Linked DNA regions of Homo sapiens: region 2 is linked to region 1. The links are contacts of gene promoters, found by promoter capture Hi-C in human tissues and cell types (Jung and others, 2019). All regions are on one chromosome and are shown on one strand. The core of a region is centred on a gene start or on the middle of the fragment in contact, and the rest is flanking DNA. Distances in the headings are between cores, read along the strand shown. Region 1 holds the start of JAG1 (jagged canonical Notch ligand 1). Region 2 overlaps PAK5 (p21 (RAC1) activated kinase 5).

What was found. The method cuts DNA at HindIII sites, captures the fragments that hold promoters and counts their contacts. A contact is called where the count stands out against the background at its distance.
Region 2: a fragment that was not itself captured here is called in contact with the fragment with the promoter of JAG1 in region 1 in 1 of the 25 tissues and cell types used here (dorsolateral prefrontal cortex).

What each region holds. Positions count from the first base shown.
Region 1 is chr20:10,671,403-10,675,724 of GRCh38, forward strand. JAG1 (jagged canonical Notch ligand 1) reads right to left here and starts at 2,597. Exons shown (of 26, transcript NM_000214.3): 1 at 2,048-2,597; 2 at 1,299-1,604. The coding sequence starts at 2,128. RefSeq lists a silencer at 2,820-3,219. The HindIII fragment of the contact is 9,344 bases long and covers 1-4,322 here.
Region 2 is chr20:9,601,773-9,606,481 of GRCh38, forward strand. All of the region lies in intron 3 of PAK5 (p21 (RAC1) activated kinase 5), which reads right to left. All of the region lies in intron 2 of LOC105372523 (a long non-coding RNA gene), which reads left to right. Among named protein-coding and RNA genes, the nearest start is that of LAMP5-AS1, 89 kb to the left of the region's middle. The HindIII fragment of the contact is 7,595 bases long and covers 1-4,709 here.

The sequences.
Region 1 (4,322 bases), core at 1,347-3,846:
TGTCTTATCTCACCCACAGCAGAGGGCACTTTATAATGCCAGCTCCTGTAATCGTGGATTTTAAGAGCCACCCCAAGCTTCATACACAGACACAGCCAGATAGTCTCCCCTCTGTCTCCTCCCAGAATCACAACCTAAGCCGGCGGACAGGAGGCAGCAGAGTGCACCCCATTAGAGCACGTGGTGGAAAGCAATGCTCTGGGGCACCGAGCTCCCCCTCTCACCACCCACCCTCCCAGCACAGGCTAGGCCAAGCCCCAGTCTTGGCAATGAGTCATGCCTCCTGGACAGCAGGAGCCAGGCAGAGGGCACACCCCCAACATTTCCCTTTCCTCCCCTTCTGCAATCGCACCCATCTTCCTTCCACCCATTTTGGGATGTTGCAAGGGCCTCGCTGCAGGATCTGCCAGCTGGGCCCGGGCCTCGAGCTCCTTTGGGGGCGGAATGGGGCGGGGGGATGAGGGCCTATCACTTACACCCTCAGGCACTACCTCCAGAAGACCACCCCTTCCAAGCCTTGGCACGGCCCCCGAAGGCTTGCGGGGGCCGTGCACCCGCCCTTCCCGGGGAAGTCTGCAAACACAGCTGTTCCAGAGCCCGGGAACCGCTGGAAGTGAGGCCACAAGAGCTACACCACTCGGGGGCGGGGGCAGGAAGGGGCCAGCAGCGGGCGGGGGTTCCCAGGTCTACAGCTCCTGTGAGGGCCCCAAGAACCTCCTCCTGCGGCGGCCGCCCCCGGCCCTTAAGCCGAACCTGGAGAGCGCCCCCGCACACACTAAAATCTCCCGGGGAGCAGCGGGAAACGGACTCCCCCACACCCTCCAGGAAGGACACACCCGCCCTCCCGGCCGTTCACGGGAAAGGGGAGGTTGCCAATTTGGACGGCGTTCGCAGGCCAGAACTGCGCCGAGTCGCCTTCCACGGCGCACCAGGTTTAATTAGTTAAGCAAAGAGATCAGCTACAACGATCTCTTGGCTTGGGGCCGGGAGAGTTACTCTGGGAACTTCAAGTTGCAAGTTTACACCGGCCTTCCTAGGAGCCTGGTCCCATAAACCCTCTGGGATCCCCACTTTTGTGCACTAAGCAAATAGCAGCAGGAATGGGACCCACCTCGACTACCCCAGCCGAGATCTAACTATAGTGTCCCGGCTCCCTCACCCGCCACCCCTAGAGATTTCCCCAGTTAGCGCCTAGTTTCAAGCCAAAGCCCTTTAAATCCCTCTCGCAAGGGATAACAGGGCTCGGCCAGGCGCGGGTGTGAGGCTCCGCCCGGCCTCCTTCCCGAGTAGTCACTCACCGGCCAGGCGAAACTGAAAGGCAGCACGATGCGGTTGCGGTCGTTGCCGCGGCTGGCCTTGAGGTTGAAGGTGTTGCCCCCGATGACAGGCGTGGACCCTGAGCCGAAGCTGCAGGGCCCCCCGGCCGTGACGCGGGACTGATACTCCTTGAGGCACACTTTGAAGTATGTGTCACACTCGTCGCGGGTGCACTTGCGGTCTCCCGGGTTCCGGGCGCCGCCGCAGCAGTTCCCGTTCTGCAGCTCCCCGTTCACGTTCTGCATGGACAGGATCTCCAACTCGAACTGACCCGAGGCCCCACACACCTGCCGGCGAGGGAAGGAGGTAGGTCAGCGCGGGAGAAAGCTGTTTTCTTCGAGTATAGAGGTGGCGACTCCCTCCCACTCCCCGCCCCGACGAGCCCTCCTCGCCGAGTGAAAATAATTTTGCGAAACTACGTTCAAGGACTCAACATGATTCCGGGGCAAAAAAAAAAAAAAATGCACGAGTGCGGAAGAAATCCGACGACTTCCCGGGGGGCAACAGCGGAGCGAACGCGCCCCTGTCCGGCCTGGAGGGGTCACCCTCAGGAGGCAGGGGCTCCCGTGGGGGAGTTGGCGCGCTCAGCCCAGGTGCAGCCGCTCGGGCGCAGGGGCGAGGAGTCGGGCGCTCGAGGGCTGCCGAGCCTGCTCGCGGGGCTCAACCGCCCAGGGCGCCGCGAGGGGAGGGAGAGGACGGCTGGGAGGGAGGCCCGGAGAAGGGCTCCTACCTTGGCTCGCAGGGCACAGAGCAGGGCGAGCAGGAGGCTTAGGGGGCGCCCGGACCGGCCGCGCGTCCGTGGGGAACGCATCGCTGCGCCGCGCGCCGCGGGCACTCGGGACGCCGCCGCTGCTGTTCGCGCTGGTGCTGCCGCCGGTGCTGCCGTCGCCGCTGCCCCTGCGGCCGCCGCGTCCCGGCTCTAATATACTCCGCCGATTGGAGCATGCACGACTGGAAAACAACACCACTTTTCAAAAGCCCTTTCAAGAGCGGCCCGTTCCAGAAGGCAAAGAGCCCGGCCTCCTTTTATTATTCTGATCGCTTCTTTGAGACGCTCCCCCTCCTCTTCCACCTCCCGGCTTTCTTTCCTTCTCTCGCGCTCCCCTTCTTTTATTATTATGATTATGCGCAGCCTTTTATTCCCTTTTAGATCAGCTGCATGGAAAAAGGGGGGAGGGAGGGGAGAAAAAAAAAAACCAGCCTAGCTCGCGGGCCGGCCGCAGGTAACACAATGACGCGTGCCCGCCCGGCTCTCGGAGAAGGACCCGGAGAGCCCGTCTGGCAGCAGCGGCCGGGGCTGGCCACCTCTACCCAGCACGCCGGGCAGGGCGCATGCGCGCTTATTAATATTCATGAGAGGGCGTGCTCACCCTGGGCACGCCCCTCCCCTTCACGTTGCTGGGGAGGGGGTAGTGCGAGGAGGAACTTGGAAGGGGTTGGGGGCAGCGGGATGCTCAGGGCGGCGTAGAAGAACCAGGGCCCCACACCAACCCCCGCCCTCGGGAGCTTCGGGCCAGGAGGGAAGGGAGAGTGCGGGGAGGTACTTGGAAGGGATCGTTGCTCAGGGACGCCTGGAGGCCCCCAGCGGGGACCGCCCCCTCGGGCGCCCCGGGCCGTGCGCCTTTGCCCGCGCGTCGGGGCCCCAGGTGTAGGCGCCGCGGCGCTGACTGAGCGGTCGGAGCGGGGCAGCTTCCGCCTTCCGAACCGCCTGCGTCAGCTGCGGCTTTCGCCCCGGGAGGAGGGCCTGCCTGCCCGCCGGGAGTTCGGCCCGCTTCCCGCGAGCGAGCCGCCCAGAGCGCTCTGCTGGCGGCAGAGGCGGCGGCGAGGCTGGCGCGCTTGCCGCCGTCTGCTCGCCCCGCGGAGGCGACCTGGGCAGACGCTGCTGGGAACTTTGAAAAACTTTCCTGGAGCCAGGCTTGCCGCAGATTCGAGGGGAAGCCTCGGCCGCGTCCCACCCCCTCCCAAATCCGAGTCTGCGGAGCCTGGGAGGGCTCCCAGCTTCCTATCCAAACCGCGCCGGGGCAGAGGCGCGGGGAAACCGGGGGTAGAAGGCGGCGGGCACGCCGGGGCCCTGTTCAGGCTTTGGGAAGGGCCGGCGGAGATGCTGGTGGGCTTGGACGCCCTCCCCGGCCCGACGCCCCGGCCGCAGTGCCGGGATTGCACCTGTAGGCGGCCTCCGAGCAGCTCTCTGGGTGGCAAGAGATGGGCCTGGGAGGGACCGTGTCCCCAGCACCGCCAGCCGCGGAACTTGCCTTCTCTGGGGTGGCAGTGGAAACCGATACTGTTTTCCACCTTGAGGCAAGCCTCGCAATTAACAGCTACACTCCTGGTCATAATCAAGGTCGAAGAAAGCCCGTGGGCTGGCCGTAGCCTCTGCTAACCCCTCTCCCACGGGCTTGCTGTTGCATTTGAGGGGACCTTTATATGGAAACATCGACTTCCTTTGAAGGGTGGACAAAGTTTTGGCCCTAATAGTAGGTATGTCCTGCAGAAAAGCGTGACTATTCAGCGGCCGGTTTGGGGCTTGAGTTCTCCTGGGTGTGGGGCGTGATGGGCTGGCAATAGGTCAAGGGAAAATAGTTTCCAACATGCTGAGTTATGAGCATAAAAGGGTGGGTATTTGTGGTTATCTACTTATTGCATTTGATGGGAGGCTCAGTATGAACAATATTTTCAGTGCCAAATCTCATCATTCTGAGGAATAAACTAGGGCAGCTAACTGACCTCTTTACATAGGTTCAAAGCTACCAAGGATGGTTAGGAGTCTTGGCATTTTAACAGCCTAAGAAATGCTCCTAAGAAAAGTGCTTACTTAGTGGTAATGTGTCCCATCTTGAGCACTGGCGGGAGAATCCATGTTTTGGAAGGGAGGTTTCTAAGAACAGAGCAAGTTTACAGCTGGTCATGTTAGCAGCTGGGGTAGGCAGCGACAACCTGGGTGTTTCAATGTGCCCCAGCCTCCCTTTCCCCAATTATCCTAAATCAAGGCAACCAGTTGTCAACTG
Region 2 (4,709 bases), core at 2,069-4,568, 1.1 Mb before region 1:
CTGAAAAAAACCTGACCTGGGCAGTTGCTGGTCCAAAAAAAATGCCAAGAGGCGTCCAGAACAGACCTGAACCCAACCTAAAACCCGCAGCCAACTCTAAGTGACCTGAACCTCAAAGCAGAGTAACCCTACCAGCCTAAGACCCATGAGCAAGAAAAAGAAATGTTTGCTGTTATAAGTCATTAGCATTTGTAGGGTTGTTTGCTATGTAGCATTTTGGCAACCATAGTTGACTAATACACTGGTGAACTCGGGATTAAACTCCAGGAATGCACTTTGGGAGGCCGAGGCGGGAGGATCACGAGGTCAAGAGATCGAGACCATCCTGGTCAACATAGTGAAACCCCGTCTTTACTAAAAATACAAAAATTAGCTGGGTGTGGTGGTGCACTCCTGTAGTCCCAGCTACTTGGGAGGCTGAGGCAGGAGAATCACTTGAACCCAGGAGGCGGAGGTTGCAGTGAGCCGAGATCACACCACTGCACTCCAGCCTGGCAACAAAGCAAGACTCTGTCTCAAAAATAAATAAATAAATAAATAAATAAATAAATAAATAAATAAATAAATAAAATAAACTCCAGTAATGTCTGAATGCAGACCCCTTGCTCCTAATGTTGCTACCATACAACCTAGGGAATAATAGTGCCCATGGCTAGCTGCATTGTATTCAGGTGGAGCACAGCCCCTTGGTGTCTGGGATGTGCTTACTACAGATGCTCACCTGTCATGAATTAATTATCTTTATGGCTAGTGCTTCAGGCTGATTCGTCAGTCAGTTTCTGAGAATCTAAAAGTTCTTTTTGCAGATCATTCTATTCTCATCATTTTGCACTGCAGGACTTTTCCATGCTAGATTAGTAGCTAGTAAGAAGCTTGGTTTACATGCAATATTTGACAGAGCTGAGATTCAGAGCTGCTCCAAATCAGTCAAACGTGACCACAGCATCTGAGCTGAACACAGAAAGGATCCTCTTCATCAATCAAAGTTCGGTTTCCTCTGAGGGAATAATTAGAACTGAATCCAAGGATATTCCCCATCTTGCCTGAACTGTACATGTAACAGAGCTTTAGCAGGCAAAACTATCCATTTATTCAATCTACTCTAACTAGAAAATAACAAAACAAAAACCAAAAAGCAAGCAAACAAAACAAAGATGTCATCACTCACGAATTTCAGTTCTAATTCCTCTAAGTCACAGATGGTTTAGACAGAGGTGGCTTTGATGTGAAAGCCAAGTTGATTTATTTTGCCTCATTTTATCTTAGCAAAGAACCCAGGAAGGTGGGAGGGACTACTTTCAACACGGAAGCATCACAAAGTGCAGCAAGCTGGAAGGAATGGTGCCCTGGAGGGGAAAGATTATAGACGCCTCCGGTGTAGAAAATGGCCAAATGGCCTACAAGCTACCTGCCAATGACACAGTGACTTTCTGGGTAGATGGAGCTCTCAGGAAGTAATGCAAGCACTTTTGGCCTTTCCTGGGAAGTGTTTCTAGTTGGGGAGGGAGAACACATTGGCAGCAGCAAGCTTTACCTGGAAGAGAGGAGGTAGCCATCCATTTTCTTTATCTGTGTCAACTCCACCTTCTCTGTTTTCTTCTTCCCGCTTCTGTGAATCCCTTCCATTCATTCCACCTCATTCCCTGAAGACTCCAAGTTCTGCCCTATTTATATCAGAGAATCAGCTCCTCCTGGCACCCAAAGGTTTCTGCCTCTCCCTGGCTGATCCCCAGCTCACATACAGCTTCTGCCTGAGAAAAACATTTAAGACTGTCTTTCCATATTGTTCTTCTTGATGAGCTAATACCCCAACTGGTACGTTAGTTAAGCAAAACTGTGTACATCCTCACCCATGATAGGGCTTTCCTGACTCCAGATAGCTTATGGATTCAAGTTATTTTTCTAGATTTACAGATAACATTAGAGTGCTTATGCTGTGCTGCTATACACACCCTTTGAAGTGCCTGCTCTCCCTCTCTGTCTGTATATAATCTCCATAACAACCGTATGAGATTTGCACTATTATCCCCATTTTACAGGTGTGGAAACTGAGTCTTGAGCCAGGAGGTAGAAAAGCTGTGCCTCTGAACCCAGGCCGTCTAGCTACAGAACCCACATCTTCACTGCTACATTCACATTGCTAACGTCATAAAAAAAGCTTTACTTCCTGACAGTTGTGTTAAGAGCTTTACATATATTTTCAAATTTAATCCGCTAAAAAATCCTATAAGATTGGCAGAATTATGATCACCACACCACAAATTATTGATATCAGGGTAAACACACCTGATAGCAATAACTTAAACACATCCTTAGAATAACCCTGTATGGCAGATGCACCTGAATGTGTGTTCCAAGCTAGGGCATCCGGGAGTGGCCAACCTGATTAGTTCCTTGTCAATGACAAATATCAGAGCCCCTGGGCTCTTCTGTGGAACACAAGCTGCCTAGGGCACTGAGGTCCTGAGTTTTGGGTTAAATGAAGGTTGCCAGCTGGATGTCATTAGGGGGAAGGTGCTATGTGAAAATGCTACATAAACTGCATGCTATTTGCAAGCAATTGCGGTTTTCCTGCCACTGGACCCTCTCCCCTGTATGTGAGCCCCCTAATAAAACCCCATGTCTCATTTTCTGGCTCTGGGTCTCTTCTCTGGCCTCTTGAATGGGGTCCCCTTTGCTATTGAGGTTAACAGGAGTTTGACACAACAGCATATGGCACAAGGACACTGAAGTATGGAGGACAAGCCACTCAGTGAAGGTCACAAAGCTATAGTTTAAGTGGAGGAATCAGGTTTTGAAGCCAGGTCTCTCTAGAGCCAAAGCTTGTTCTCTTAGCTAGAAATCCTATTCACACCCCTGCATCCAAACTTGTGACCTCTAATGACTCCTCCTGCTTTGTGAGTCCCTCCAGCTTGATCTGCTTTGTCCCTTTGCCACCCACACACCAAAATGACACCTCTTTCTCCTCCCTCTTTAGACATTTAGAGAAAAGATACCTGGTTGTCTTGTCAGTTTTCCGCCTCCAAGGGGCCATGGAATGCTGTAGGCTAGGCATTCTATGGCAGGGAGGAAAAGCCCAGGCTTGTACAACTCCTCACTGGGGCGTTATCTGGGATGCAGCTTTATTCAGAAGCACTAGGTACCCCAGTACAAGGAACTGTAGAGAGAATAAGTGTTCTAATTTGGGTTCCCTTGAAAGCAACTCAAGGAAGAAGGACTTTAGTGCAGGTTCTTTATTTGTGAGGAGATTCCAGAAAGCCACATGACAGACTGAAGAAAGTGCAATGAAAATGAGAGAAATCCACATTGGGTGCCCCATTGAGCTGGTTAATGCTGTGGGCAACTGGGCCTCTGTGCTGCAGCAGATGCCCTGCAGAGCCATGTCAAATGCAGGTCAGAGAAGCGGGGGTATTTATCCAAGAACTTCCTTTCCACATTGGTTAAGGATTACCTTTGGGGGCATTCATTGCCTGGCATTTCTGGGCAGGATTGTCATGTCAGAGAAAGCCCTTGGACACAGAGCAGAGAGAAACTGTTAGTGTGCATGAGATGAGTCCACCAAAGCTGCAGGTAAACTCAGGTGTGTTCAGGGGATATGAAGCAGGGCATCTTCATGACTGCTGTAGCCAGCTTTGCACATGGATAGATGTAGGTTTGAATATCTGCTCTGTCACCTAACTATAAGGTCTTATGCGAACTATGGAAACCTCTCTGTAAATATCAGATTCCTTCCCTAAAAAACAGACATAATGATATATTGCTAGATTGGAGGAAGGATTAAGTGAGACATGGTATGTGTTAACACCTGGCACAGTGTCAGGTATACAGTGGACAACTACTATTGCTTCCCCACTGGGTTAAAAGTGAAGAGAATTGCCAGGCAAGGTGACTCATGCCTTTAATCCCAACACTTTGTGAGGCCAAGGCAGGCGGATCACTCGAGACCAGGAGTTAGAGACCAGCCTGGTCAACATGGTAAGACCCCGTCTCTACTAAAAGTACAAAAAATCAGCCGGGTGTGGTGGCATGCAGCTGTAATACCAGCTACTGGGGAGGCTGAGGTGGGAGAATGGCTTGAACCTTGGAGGTGGAGGTTGCAGTGAGCCGAGATGGCGCTACTGCACTCCAGCCTGGGTGACAGAGCGAGACTCCATCTCAAAAAAAAGTGAAGAGAATTTAGACAGACTAGATGGTCAAAAGTGTAAGCACCAGTGTTACTCACTTTACTTAAATTTCTGGATGCTTAGTAGGTTGATATGATTTGGATCTGTGTCCCTGCCCAAATTTCATGTCAAATAGTAATCTCCAATGTTGGCGGTAGGGCCCGGTGGGAGGTGACTGGATCATGGGGGGTGAACTTCTCATGAATGATTTAGTGCCATCCCCTTGGTACTATTCTCATGATAATGAGTGAGTTCTCACAAGATCTCAGTCTTCAAAAGTGTGTGGCACCTCCTGCCGCCCTCTCTTCCTCCTGCTCTAGCCATGTGATGTATCTGCTCCACCTCTGCCTTCCCCGATGATTGTAAGTTTTCTGAGGCCTCCCCAGACACCAAGTAGATGCCAGCATCATGCTTCCTGTGCAGCCTGCAGAGGAGGTGAGCCAATTACTCTTTTCTTTATAAATTACCCAGTCTTAGTTAATTTTTTGTAGCAGTGTGAGAATGGACTAATACACAGGTGCTTGTCAAGTGAAGGAAGGAGTAAAA